Regions from separate parts of the Homo sapiens genome. Here regions 1, 3 and 4 are each linked to region 2. The links are contacts of gene promoters, found by promoter capture Hi-C in blood cells and fetal thymus (Javierre and others, 2016). All regions are on one chromosome and are shown on one strand. The core of a region is centred on a gene start or on the middle of the fragment in contact, and the rest is flanking DNA. Distances in the headings are between cores, read along the strand shown.

Evidence for each region. The method cuts DNA at HindIII sites, captures the fragments that hold promoters and counts their contacts. A CHiCAGO score of 5 or more calls a contact.
Region 1: a contact is called between a fragment that was not itself captured here and the fragment with the promoter of CCDC66 in region 2, in 2 of 17 cell types (total CD8 T cells and total B cells). The highest score is 5.5, in total CD8 T cells.
Region 3: a fragment that was not itself captured here is called in contact with the fragment with the promoter of CCDC66 in region 2 in 4 of 17 cell types (activated CD4 T cells, fetal thymus, naive CD8 T cells and 1 more); the score reaches 7.1 in activated CD4 T cells.
Region 4: a fragment that was not itself captured here is called in contact with the fragment with the promoter of CCDC66 in region 2 in 4 of 17 cell types (total CD4 T cells, activated CD4 T cells, fetal thymus and 1 more); the score reaches 6.6 in total CD4 T cells.

The regions. Positions count from the first base shown.
Region 1 is chr3:57,598,961-57,601,660 of GRCh38, forward strand. ARF4-AS1 (ARF4 antisense RNA 1) reads left to right here. Exons shown (of 2, transcript NR_132370.1): 2 at 1,783-1,956. It also overlaps a transcript of PDE12 not described here. Among named protein-coding and RNA genes, the nearest start is that of ARF4-AS1, 2.5 kb to the left of the region's middle. The HindIII fragment of the contact is 2,797 bases long and covers 1-2,700 here.
Region 2 is chr3:56,555,910-56,558,609 of GRCh38, forward strand. CCDC66 (coiled-coil domain containing 66) reads left to right here and starts at 1,266. Exons shown (of 18, transcript NM_001141947.3): 1 at 1,266-1,344. The coding sequence starts at 1,334. RefSeq lists enhancers at 709-1,381, 1,382-2,053, 1,522-1,681. The HindIII fragment of the contact is 1,896 bases long and covers 1,052-2,700 here.
Region 3 is chr3:58,491,481-58,494,180 of GRCh38, forward strand. It overlaps KCTD6 (potassium channel tetramerization domain containing 6), which reads left to right and starts at 616. Exons shown (of 3, transcript NM_001128214.2): 1 at 616-689. RefSeq lists a silencer at 267-916. The HindIII fragment of the contact is 482 bases long and covers 1,144-1,625 here.
Region 4 is chr3:57,557,262-57,559,961 of GRCh38, forward strand. PDE12 (phosphodiesterase 12) reads left to right here. Exons shown (of 3, transcript NM_177966.7): 1 at 1-426; 2 at 2,049-2,127; 3 at 2,301-2,700. Among named protein-coding and RNA genes, the nearest start is that of PDE12, 2.3 kb to the left of the region's middle. RefSeq lists an enhancer at 843-1,475. The HindIII fragment of the contact is 2,956 bases long and covers 1-2,700 here.

The DNA of each region.
Region 1 (2,700 bases), core at 92-2,591, 1.0 Mb after region 2:
CAGGCCTCAGTTAATTTAGAAAGTTAATTTTGCCAAAGTTGAGGACACGCGTCCATGACATAGCCTCAGGAGGTCTTGTAGACATGTGCCCAAGGTGATCAGAGCACGGTTTGGTTTTATACATTCTAGGGAGAAATGAGACATCAATCAATATATGTAAGATGAACATTGGTTCATTCTGGAAAGACTGGACAACTCAAAGCAAAGGCAGGAAGACTCTGAGTGGGGAGGGAGCTTCCAGGGCATAGATAGATAAGAGACAAATGGTTGCATTCCTTTGAGTTTCTGATTAGCCTCTCCAAAGGAGGCAGTCAGATATGCGTTTATCTCAGTGAGCAGAGGGGTGACTTTTTAAAGAATGGGAGGCAGGTTGGCCCTAAGCAGTTCCCAGCTTGACTTTTCTCTTTAGCTTAGTGAGGTGGAGGCCCCAAGATTTATTTTCCTTTCACACTTTAGGCCTTATGTCTGTTTTTAGTTTTATATAGTAGAATTCCTTAAAACAATCTTCAACTAATTCTTAGGGTCTTCTTAAATTCAAAAGACAAACCGTATGAGCCCTCCTCCCTGTAACTTATTCCAAATCTTAATCCATGTTTTCTGTTTAGTTATGCAAAATAAATCGAAAGAATTCTGTTCTCCATCTCTAGCCTCCAAAACCTGAACCAAAACAAAAGTTGTCAAAACAGATTTTTCAGTAAGAATACACTACACATCAAGTGGCTAATGTAAATTACAAAACAGGATGTTAATGGCAGACTGTAATATCTCTATTGTACAGATAAAAATAATCAGGGTCAGAGAGATTAAATATTCTGCCCAAGGTCACACAGCTAAAAGCAGTGGAACAGCTATAAGAACCCATTTCTTCTGGTATTAACTGGTATTTACACTCTTTTTTTTTTTTTTTTTTTAATAAATAAGTGGATTCTGGCTATGTTGCCCAGGCCTGTCTGGAACTCCTGGGCCCAAGCAATCCTTCCACCTCAGCCTCCAAAGTGTTGGGATTACAGGTGTGAGCCAGTGCACCCAGCCATTAACACTCTTAACCACTACACTATACTACCTTCTTACATTTATTTATTTATTTATTTGAGACAGGGTCTCACTTTGTCACCCAAGCTGAAGTACAGTGGCATCATCTCGGCTTACTCAACCTCCTGGGATCAAGTGATCCTCCCACCTCAGCCCCCAAAGTAGCTGGGACTACAGGTACACCACCACATTGGCTAAGTAGTGTTATTTTTTGTAGAGACAGGGTTTTGCTATGTTGCCAAGGCTGGTCTCAAACTCCTGAGCTCAACCAATCTGTCTGCCTTGGCCTCCCAAAGTACTGGGATTATGGGCCTGAGCCACTGTTCCCGGCCAAATTCTTTTCTTTTCTCTTTTCTTTTTCTTTCTTTCCTTTCTTTTCTTTCTTTCTCTTTCTTTTCTTTCCTTCATCCTTCCCTCCCCTTCCTTTCCTTTCCCTTTTCCCCTCCCTTCCCCCTTCTGTTCCCTTTTCCCTTCCCTTTTCCCTCCTCTCCCTTCCCCTCCCCTCCCTTTTTCCTCCTGCCTCAGCCTCCCAAGTAGCTGGGACCACAGACATATTCCACCATGCCCAGCTATTTTATGTATTTTTGGTAGAGTTGGCGTTTTGTAGAGACCAGCATGTTGCCCAAGCTGGTATCCAGCTGCTGAGCTCAGGCGATCTACTCGCCTTGGCCTCCCAAAGTGTTGGTAGTAGAGGTGTGAGCCACCGTGCCCAGACCCCAAATTTATTTTTATTTTATTTTATTTTTCTAGGTCAGGCATGGTGGCTCACACCTGTAATCCCAGCATGTTGGGAGGCCAAGATGGGAGACTCACTTGAGCCCAGAAGTTCCAGACCAGCCTTGGCAATATAGTGAGATGCCATTTCTATTTTAAAAAATATTTTAAAAATAAAATATTTTTCTATTCACCTTTCATCAATACAAACCCAGAAGAGAATCTTTCTTATTTTTAAAAATGAGGAAATTGAGCCCTACAAGAAAAATTGCTATAGTTTATTGATCACTTGCTAAGCCATGTACTTCATTTAATCATCGCTTTTGAACACAGTGTTGTATAAAGTTGCCCAGGCTCAAAAGCATGTACTCATAACATACTACACTAGGTAGTATGTTTTCCTCATCTCTGGTTATTTTATTTTATTTTTTTTTGCTCTGTCACCTAGGCTGGAGTGCAGTGGGGCGATCTTGGCTCACTGTAGCCTCTGCCTCCTGGGTTCCAGCGATTCTCCTGTATCAGCCTCCGGGGTAGCTGGAATTACAGGCACATGCCACTGCGCCCGGCTAATTTTTGTATTTTTAGCAGAGAGGGGGTTTCACCATGTTGGCCAGGCTGGTCTCGAACTCCTGACCTAGGTGGTCCACCCACCTCGGCCTCCCAAAATGCTGGGATTACAGGTGTGAGCCACCGCGCCCAGCCTCTGACTATTTTTCTTAGTGAGATCTTTTTAGTCACAAATATGTATATGGAATTTACATTCCAGTCCCTTGGGTTTAATAATGTACAGACAGCAGACCCCCTGTATCTTCAGGTTTCAAACCCACAGATTCAGCCAATAGCAGATGTGGAACCTGCAGATGCAGAATGGCAACTGTAAGGGCCTTGAGCATCTGCAGATTTTGGTATCACGGGGATCCTGGAACCAATCTCCCCAAATACCCAGGTACAACT
Region 2 (2,700 bases), core at 16-2,515:
TACTTGTACATCAGTGTTCACTACAGCATTATTCACAATAACTAAAAGATGGAAACAACCCAAATGTCTATTAATGGATGAATGAGTAAACGAATTGTGGTATATATATACATAGAATGGAATACTATTCAATCATAAACAGATATGAAGCTCTGATACATCCTACAACATGGATGCACCTTGAATACATTATGTTACTTGAGAGAAGACACAAAAGGACAAATATTGTATGATTCCACTTTTATGACATGAAGTATCTATAATAGGCAAATTCCTAGAGACAGAAATAAGATTAGAGGTTTCTTAGGATTGAGGGGAGAGGAAAATGGGAAGTTGTTGCTTAATGGGTACAGAATTTTTATTTGGGGGTACTAAAAAGCTTTTGGAAAAATATACTGGCGTATTCCACAACATTGTATCATGGAATTGTCACTTGAAAATGGCTAAAAATAGCAAATTTTAACACACATATTACAACAATAAAAAATAAAAAAGTAAAGGTTTGTCAGGCATTTAATAATTAATACCTTTCATTGTTTTTGTCTGGAAAGAGTGTGTGCAAAGATACTTAACAACCAAATGTAATGTGTGATCCTTGATCGGCTCTTGCATTTTTTTTTTTTTTTTTTGAGACGGAGTCTCACTCTGTCGCCCAAGCTGCTGGAATGCAGTGGCGCGATTGGCTCTTGCTTTCTAAATAAAATGCCTATAAGATATTCTTAGGACAAGTGGGGGAAATTAAATCGGGAAGAGAATTATTATGAAATTAATGATCTTAGGTATAATAATTGTACTGCGGTTATGTAGCAGAACATCTATTCTTAGGAGATACATGCTGCAATGTTAAAGGGTTAAGTGTTACAATGTCTGCAATGTTAAAGGGTTAAGTGTTACAATGTCTGTAACTTACTTGCAAATGGTGACCCCAAAAAGGTGTGTGTGTGTGTGTGTGTGTGTGTGTGTGTGTGTGTGTGTGTGTGTGTGTGTGTGTGTGTCTGTGTACGCGCTTTGGAAGGCTACAATTGCGAGAAGCGCAGGTCTCCGCCACCGAAGCTTTAGACTCATAAGCCGGGTCAGGCCAAATTCCGCTGTGCGTAGGGGAACAAACGGCACAAACGGGGCACAAAAGGGGAACAAACGGCATACGCAACCGTCCCCGCGGGAGCCCCGGCCCAGCTCAGCGCACCCGCCAGCATGCCCCACCCTGATTGGTCCACTTGCTCAGCTCGCCGGCACCCCTATATCCAATTGGCGTAGCGCTTGCTGAGCGGCGGCGGCAACCGACGTACACAAGGGGCTTGAGCGTTCTGTGGAGAGAGTGCGAGGTCAGGCCATGAACTTGGGGTAAGCAGGGGTAAGCTGGGGTAAGCTGGGGTAAGCAAGGTGGTCGTCAGCGGAGAGGGAGGCATGTGTGTCTGGGTTGTCCCTTGGAGTCTTTACTGGAGAACGTTCCCAACCTGCGCCGCCGAGAGGGGCAGAGCCCAGTTCTCGGGTAGAAGATCGAGGCAGATGGGTCGGCCCTTAGCGACTCCACAGACCTTACGTTTTCACTTAATGACTAGCATTAAAACTGCCAGTGATCCCCTTTCGGTCCCTTATTTACCTCAGGATGAGGAGGGAAGAGAGGTGAGGAGGAAAGGAGAGAAATGACGAGACAGTTAGAGGAAGCGTGGCGGCTCCTGGGGAGGACTCCTGGCCCATGCCCCGGGTTCTTCGCCACCTTGTTTTTGGAGTCTTGCAGAATGTTGAAACGCCCAAATTCGTTTTAGGCCCACGAGGCGGGGAACCAGGCTTCTCAAGAAATCGATGTAGTACCAGTGCCTAACACCTAGTAGGCGCTCCTTAAGTAGGGGTGAATAAATAAAAAGGGCTGGTGCATGGTCTTCATCACTCGCAAGTTTGATATTTTGAGAAGATGAGAAGCCACCAAACTCAGACCTAACTACACATCGTTCAGCAAATGTTATTATGTTTTAGAATCTGGGGATATGGAAATAAATAAGATAGTGTGTCCCTTAAGGAGATTACAGTGCAGTGCGTCATTGAAGGTACTTTACCATTGAAGCTCTTTTCTTTCTTGGTGACGTTTCACCAACATAAACACGAACTGTTCATAACCCTACAATAAGGAAAGCCGTAAAACCTATTCTTTCCAGTGTTTTACCTTTAATAGTTAAGGTGAGGTAATTTGATTTCCCCTACCTGAGCAACACCGCAAATTTCGCATTCCTAATCAGACCTTTCCCAGCCTCTCTCTCCCTTGACTGGCTTGCTGGATTTAATTTTCTCTCTCTGAATTATGGACTGTATGTATGGGCTGCCATTTTTGTTCTCAGTGGAGTTTTAGGACCTTAACAGACGTTCAAGTTTTGTTGGCAGTGGCTACTGTTACTTTATGCCTTTGCTTCTGATATGCACGTATAAAGCACCATACTAAATATCACTATGTATTATTTGAAATATTGAAAGTGGTACTCTTTGCTCAAGCAGTTACTAACCTTGATGGCATTGTTAGTAGTCATATCGATGCTCCAGCACTCCATAGAATGTTTTAGTCATGAGTTCATTATGAAACTAATGAATGGCGGTTAAATATATCTTGTTCCTTTAACTTATGTGAGGAGTTTTGGTAACAGCATTATTAAAAAATGGTGGTATGATAACTTAATTTATAGTTTACCAATAACAAAATGAGATTTC
Region 3 (2,700 bases), core at 135-2,634, 1.9 Mb after region 2:
GCAGGGGCTCCCTTCCCTTCTTCTCCATCTAAGTCCTCTAATCATGTCCCTCCCAACACTTACGGCCATAACTTGTCATTATTTTGTCTATTAGCTGTTTCCTTGAGTCTTGTCTGTCTTCTCCTTTGATTAGGACCCGCCTCCGTCTTGGTGGCCGCTGTATCTCCTAAACCCCCAGGCCTGAGATATAGTGGGGGGCCCATACAAGTTCGTGAAATGACTAAGGAGAAACAGCTGTGGAGGCACCACCCCTGAGGACGCAGTGGGCCTGGGGTTGGGCGGACCCCAGGCTGCGGGCGGAGGCGGGACGTAGGGGCGGGGTTTCGGGGCTTCGGAGCGGAGCCTAAGGGGCGGGACTGGGGCTTCGGGGCGGGGCTTCGGGGCTGCGGTCGTGTGGTCTTGACCGCGCGGCTCCGACTGCGCTGGCTGAGTTCCTCAGGCCGCCCGCTCTCTGGCTTCCAGCCCGCGCTGCCGTTAGGGGGCGCCCGCGCTCGTGGCGCCGCGGCTCTGCTGGGAAGGCGCCGCCCGCGCCGGGCAGCTGGAGCCGCAACTCCGGGCGCGGGCTCAGTCGTCCCCTCTGCCGCCGCCGCCGCCGCCGTCGCCGGGCGCGGGCTCGCTTGTCCCCGCGCTCGCGCTCTCCGGCCGCGGGCATCTCCCGGCCCGGCCGCAGCAGCCGCCGCCGCCGCGCAGTGAGTGGGGCTGGCGCGGGGCTTGCGGGGCCGGGGTTTGGGAGGGCCGGGTTTCAGGAGACGTCTGCGCCGAGCGGCCAGGGGAGCGGGGCTGAGGAGGATCTGGGCGGGGGCTCCTGGAACGGGGCGGCGGCGGGGCCGCGTTGAGGGGACCGCGCGTCCCGGGCTGGCACGAGCCAGCAGCGGAGGTGCCCGCGGCGGGGCCTGGGCGGGGGTTCCGGGGCCCGCCCGGCGGGGATGCGCGGTTTCTGCGGGCCCGGGTTCGGAGCCCCGCGGCGCGCCCCTCGTCCGGGCCCGGAGCATCGCCCGCCCTACCCCTGGCCGGGTCGGGTTGCGGGGGCTTCGCTGGCGGGGCAGCAGCGAAGGGCGGCCCGGACGGAGATATTTGGGGTGTGCTCGAAAATGATTGTTTTTGGGAGATGGCGCTTATTAGCCACCAATTGCCCTAGTTTAAAGCTTGAGGCAGGACTCAAAACCCTGCCTTTGGGATTTTCTGCCCTGAAGAGACTCTCAGATCGCAGCTGAGTTCTTTATGCCTAGATTTGTGTGTGTGTGGTGGCGTTTTTAATGCTTGATGTCAGAGGTGATAAATGGCCATGGTAATGGGGAGCCCTGGCAGCACCTGCTGGGCTGACAGTGGTGGAGGCTGTGTCTGGGGGTGGGACGGGGAAATGAAACGTGACAGAGATCCTGTTTGGATATTCTGCCGAAGTTACCATGTTTCTGTTCAAGTATACCAGTTCTAGAACAAGTTGATGGATCCAATTTTAGGACTTTGTGATAGAAGAGGTTTGGGTGGCAAAGTGACCTGGGATGACCCGGCTCGGCTAAGAATATTTGGGGTAGCCTAAGTATCTCTTCTATATCCCCCTGGCATGTTCTTTTTTTCGCTGTCACAAATGCCCTATTACTTGAATCATCCTGGGATAGGAGAGAAGCTTGGGGACAGCATGTAGCACAGTCCTGAGCCCAAGATTGAGATGTTTTCAAATGAACGAATATGTAGCTAGGAAAAGGAAAATGTGTTTGTCAGCAGGGTTGGTAGGTTGAGAGTATTTTCTCTTTGGCCGAAACCATCAGTCCATACTGATACTTGATTTTGTGCTATGCCTTAGATATGAACGATGGAGTGGTCAGGATAGCCATGGATGCCATTCCAAAGTTTTGTGATTTGAATTTTCATAAATCATATTTTAACCAAAGCATTACTACTTAAAGGAATCTTAGGGTGAACCCTATGAATCCTTCAGTGCGCTTGGATTTTGATATTTGGGGTCCATTTAAAATGGAGTACCTGTATGTATTTGGATTCAGCTTTAACTTGGAGATAATCCCGAGTCATGCTTTAAAGAAGTTCCTTCTGAGATCAGGAGCTCAGGTGTTTGGTGAACTCTGGGAAAACTAGACACTCCCCTTTACCTGTATATAGTTCTCCCTTCTGGAGCTCTGGGAAAAGGAGGACCTGGGGAGATTTGAAGCAAATTAAGAGGCTGCCTCCTCCATATTTGCCGTCTCCAGGCCAATGCTCTAAATTACTTGTGTTCACACTCAAGTTTCTCATGTTAACCTAGAAATTTTGTTTATGCTGCTGCCACTAATGTTTTCACATTTGTCTAATACTTGCTAGTTTACAGATGGTTTTATATTCATGATCTCCCTTATTTTCTCCATTTCCCCAAAGAAGAAGCTGGGCATAAAGAGTGATTTTCTCAGGGTCTCATAATCAGTAACGGAGCAGAATTCAACTACAGGACCTCCCTGGGAACCTGTTCTCTTTCCTTGTCCTGATGTGTTACTCTTATAGGCCAATTTTTGCCTTTGTGTTGTGCCTAAATGGTGTAATTACCCCGTTTTGGGAAGGTGGTATTATCCCGTTTTATCTTGCGGAAACTGAGGGTTAAGAGGAATGTTATGATTTTGTGACTATTTGTGACAGCTTTTTAATATTAGGTCACTTTTAAACCTATAGCTTCTCTCTTCTAGACCACATGGTTGAGAAAGGAGAAAGAGA
Region 4 (2,700 bases), core at 86-2,585, 1.0 Mb after region 2:
ATCCGCACTGTCTCTTACAACATCCTGGCAGACACGTACGCGCAGACTGAGTTCTCGCGAACGGTTCTGTACCCATACTGTGCCCCCTACGCCCTGGAGCTCGACTACCGCCAGAACCTTATCCAGAAGGAACTCACCGGCTACAACGCCGATGTCATCTGTTTGCAGGAGGTTGACCGCGCAGTGTTTTCTGACAGCTTGGTACCCGCCCTAGAGGCCTTCGGGCTCGAGGGGGTGTTTCGAATCAAGCAGCACGAAGGCCTGGCCACTTTCTACCGAAAGTCTAAGTTCAGCCTTCTTAGCCAGCATGACATTTCATTCTACGAAGCCCTCGAGTCCGACCCACTTCACAAAGAACTGCTGGAGAAACTAGTTTTGTACCCATCAGCGCAGGAGAAGGTGCTCCAGAGATCTTCTGTTCTTCAGGTAAAGTAGTTCCGCCCGTCTCTTCACATACTGTCCCACTTTTAGGGGCCAGGAAGGCGAGGAATGAGGTGGGGGTTAAAAGTGCGATGAAAGTATCCAGATATTGTTGAAAGGTGTGTTTGCCCTTGTATCTTCAGCACAAAGTTTACTCTTCATTCATTCAGCAGATATTTTTTGAACACCTCTGGTGTGCCTGCCATACTGCAGGTTGCCTTGAACAAGACTAGCAGGGACTTTTACAGTGCTTACAATCTAGCGAGAGGGACACACGCTAAATGCAAGAACAATAGTAGCTAATGTTTTTTACTACTTGCCAAGCACTGTTCTGGCACATTTTAAAGTACTTAAAATTTAAGAGCGTGGTGTGTTTTGAAGTGCTCCATAAATATAAACTAGTTTTTTTTAAATCATAGGCTCATTGAATCTTCACAGTAAGTCCCCTATTCCCATTTTATAGATGTCATTCTTGTGTTAAAGTTTTTAAGTAATTGATTTTGTTCATAATAAGAAGAGCAGCTACCATTTTTTAAGTACCTAAGGTGTTTCATGCACCTTATAAGATCATTTAATTGACTCCACACAACAGCCCATGAGGTGGATGGTATTGTCAGTGACTGCCAGTACGAAACTGGCTAGAAAAGCATCTTTTTGCAGGTCACATTGCTATAAATGGTGAAATGAGTATTCAAACCCAGGTCTGCCTGACTCCAAAGCCTGTGCTTACGCTTGAAAACACTTTCTCCAGTCAAAGTGTTGTCATGTAAAATGTATTGTTTATATTACTAGCTTTATATATTGGACTATTATTATTATTATTATTATTTTGAGACGGAGTCTCTGTCACCTAGGCTGGAGTACGGTGGCGCGATATCGGCTCACCGCAACTTCCGCCTCCCGGGTTCAAGCGATTCTCCTGCCTCAGCCTCCCTAGTAGCTGGGACTAGAGGCGCGTGCCACCACGCCCGGCTAATTTTTTTAGTAGAGACGGGGTTTGGGGTTTCACCATGTTAGCCAGGATGGTCTCGATCTCCTGACCTCGTGATCCGCCCGCCTCAGCCTCCCAAAGTGCTGGGATTACAGGCGTGAGCCACCACGCCCGGCCTATATTGGACTATTATTAAAACATGTTACACTGAACCTAGTCATGTAGATCCTGAAACTTTAAGTTGGATTTCATGACTGCAGTCCTAGTTCATCAAGGGAAGGAGATGGAAGAAAACGTTAGTTCGCCATTAGTCTTAGATAAAAAACAGGCCGGGCCTGGTGGCTTATGCCTGTAATCCCAGCACTTTGGGAGGCCGAGGCGGGTGGATCACAAGTCAGGAAATCGAGACCATCCTGGCTAACACGATGAAACCCCGTCTCTACTACAAATACAAAAAAATTAGCCGGGCGTGGTGGCACGCGCCTGTAGTCCCAGCTACTCCGGAGGCAGAGGCAGGGGAATCGCTTGAACCCGGGAGGCGGAGCTTGCAGTGAGCCGAGATCGCGCTACTGCACTCCAGCCTGGTTGACAGAGTGAGACTGTCTCGAAAAAACTCAAAAAAACAAACAAACAAACAAAAACATTCAGGAGATTTGCAAATGCCAACTGAACTCTTGGCACTTTCCGTTTATTTTAGGTTTCAGTTCTTCAGTCTACAAAGGACTCTTCTAAAAGGATATGTGTTGCTAATACCCATCTTTACTGGCATCCTAAAGGTAGGTTTTATTTGGTATCACAAGTGACTTAAACACGCTTAAAGTTGTTTAAAGTGTTTTACACAAATGCATATCTTGAACGTCACCCAGAGACTGTAATTTGTGTAGTTTTTCTTTTTTAACTTAAAGACAACTTTAAAAAATACTTACATTAATGTTTTTTATATTCATAGGTGGGTATATTCGCCTCATTCAAATGGCAGTAGCCTTGGCTCACATAAGACATGTTTCATGTGATCTGTATCCTGGCATACCAGTTATATTTTGTGGGGACTTTAATAGTACACCATCAACAGGAATGTATCATTTTGTCATCAATGGCAGCATTCCAGAGGATCATGAAGACTGGGCTTCCAATGGGGAGGAGGAAAGATGCAATATGTCTCTTACACATTTCTTCAAGCTGAAAAGTGCTTGTGGTGAACCTGCTTACACAAATTATGTTGGTGGCTTTCATGGATGTCTAGATTACATTTTCATTGACTTAAATGCTTTAGAGGTTGAACAGGTGATTCCATTACCTAGTCATGAAGAAGTTACCACCCACCAGGCCTTACCTAGTGTTTCCCATCC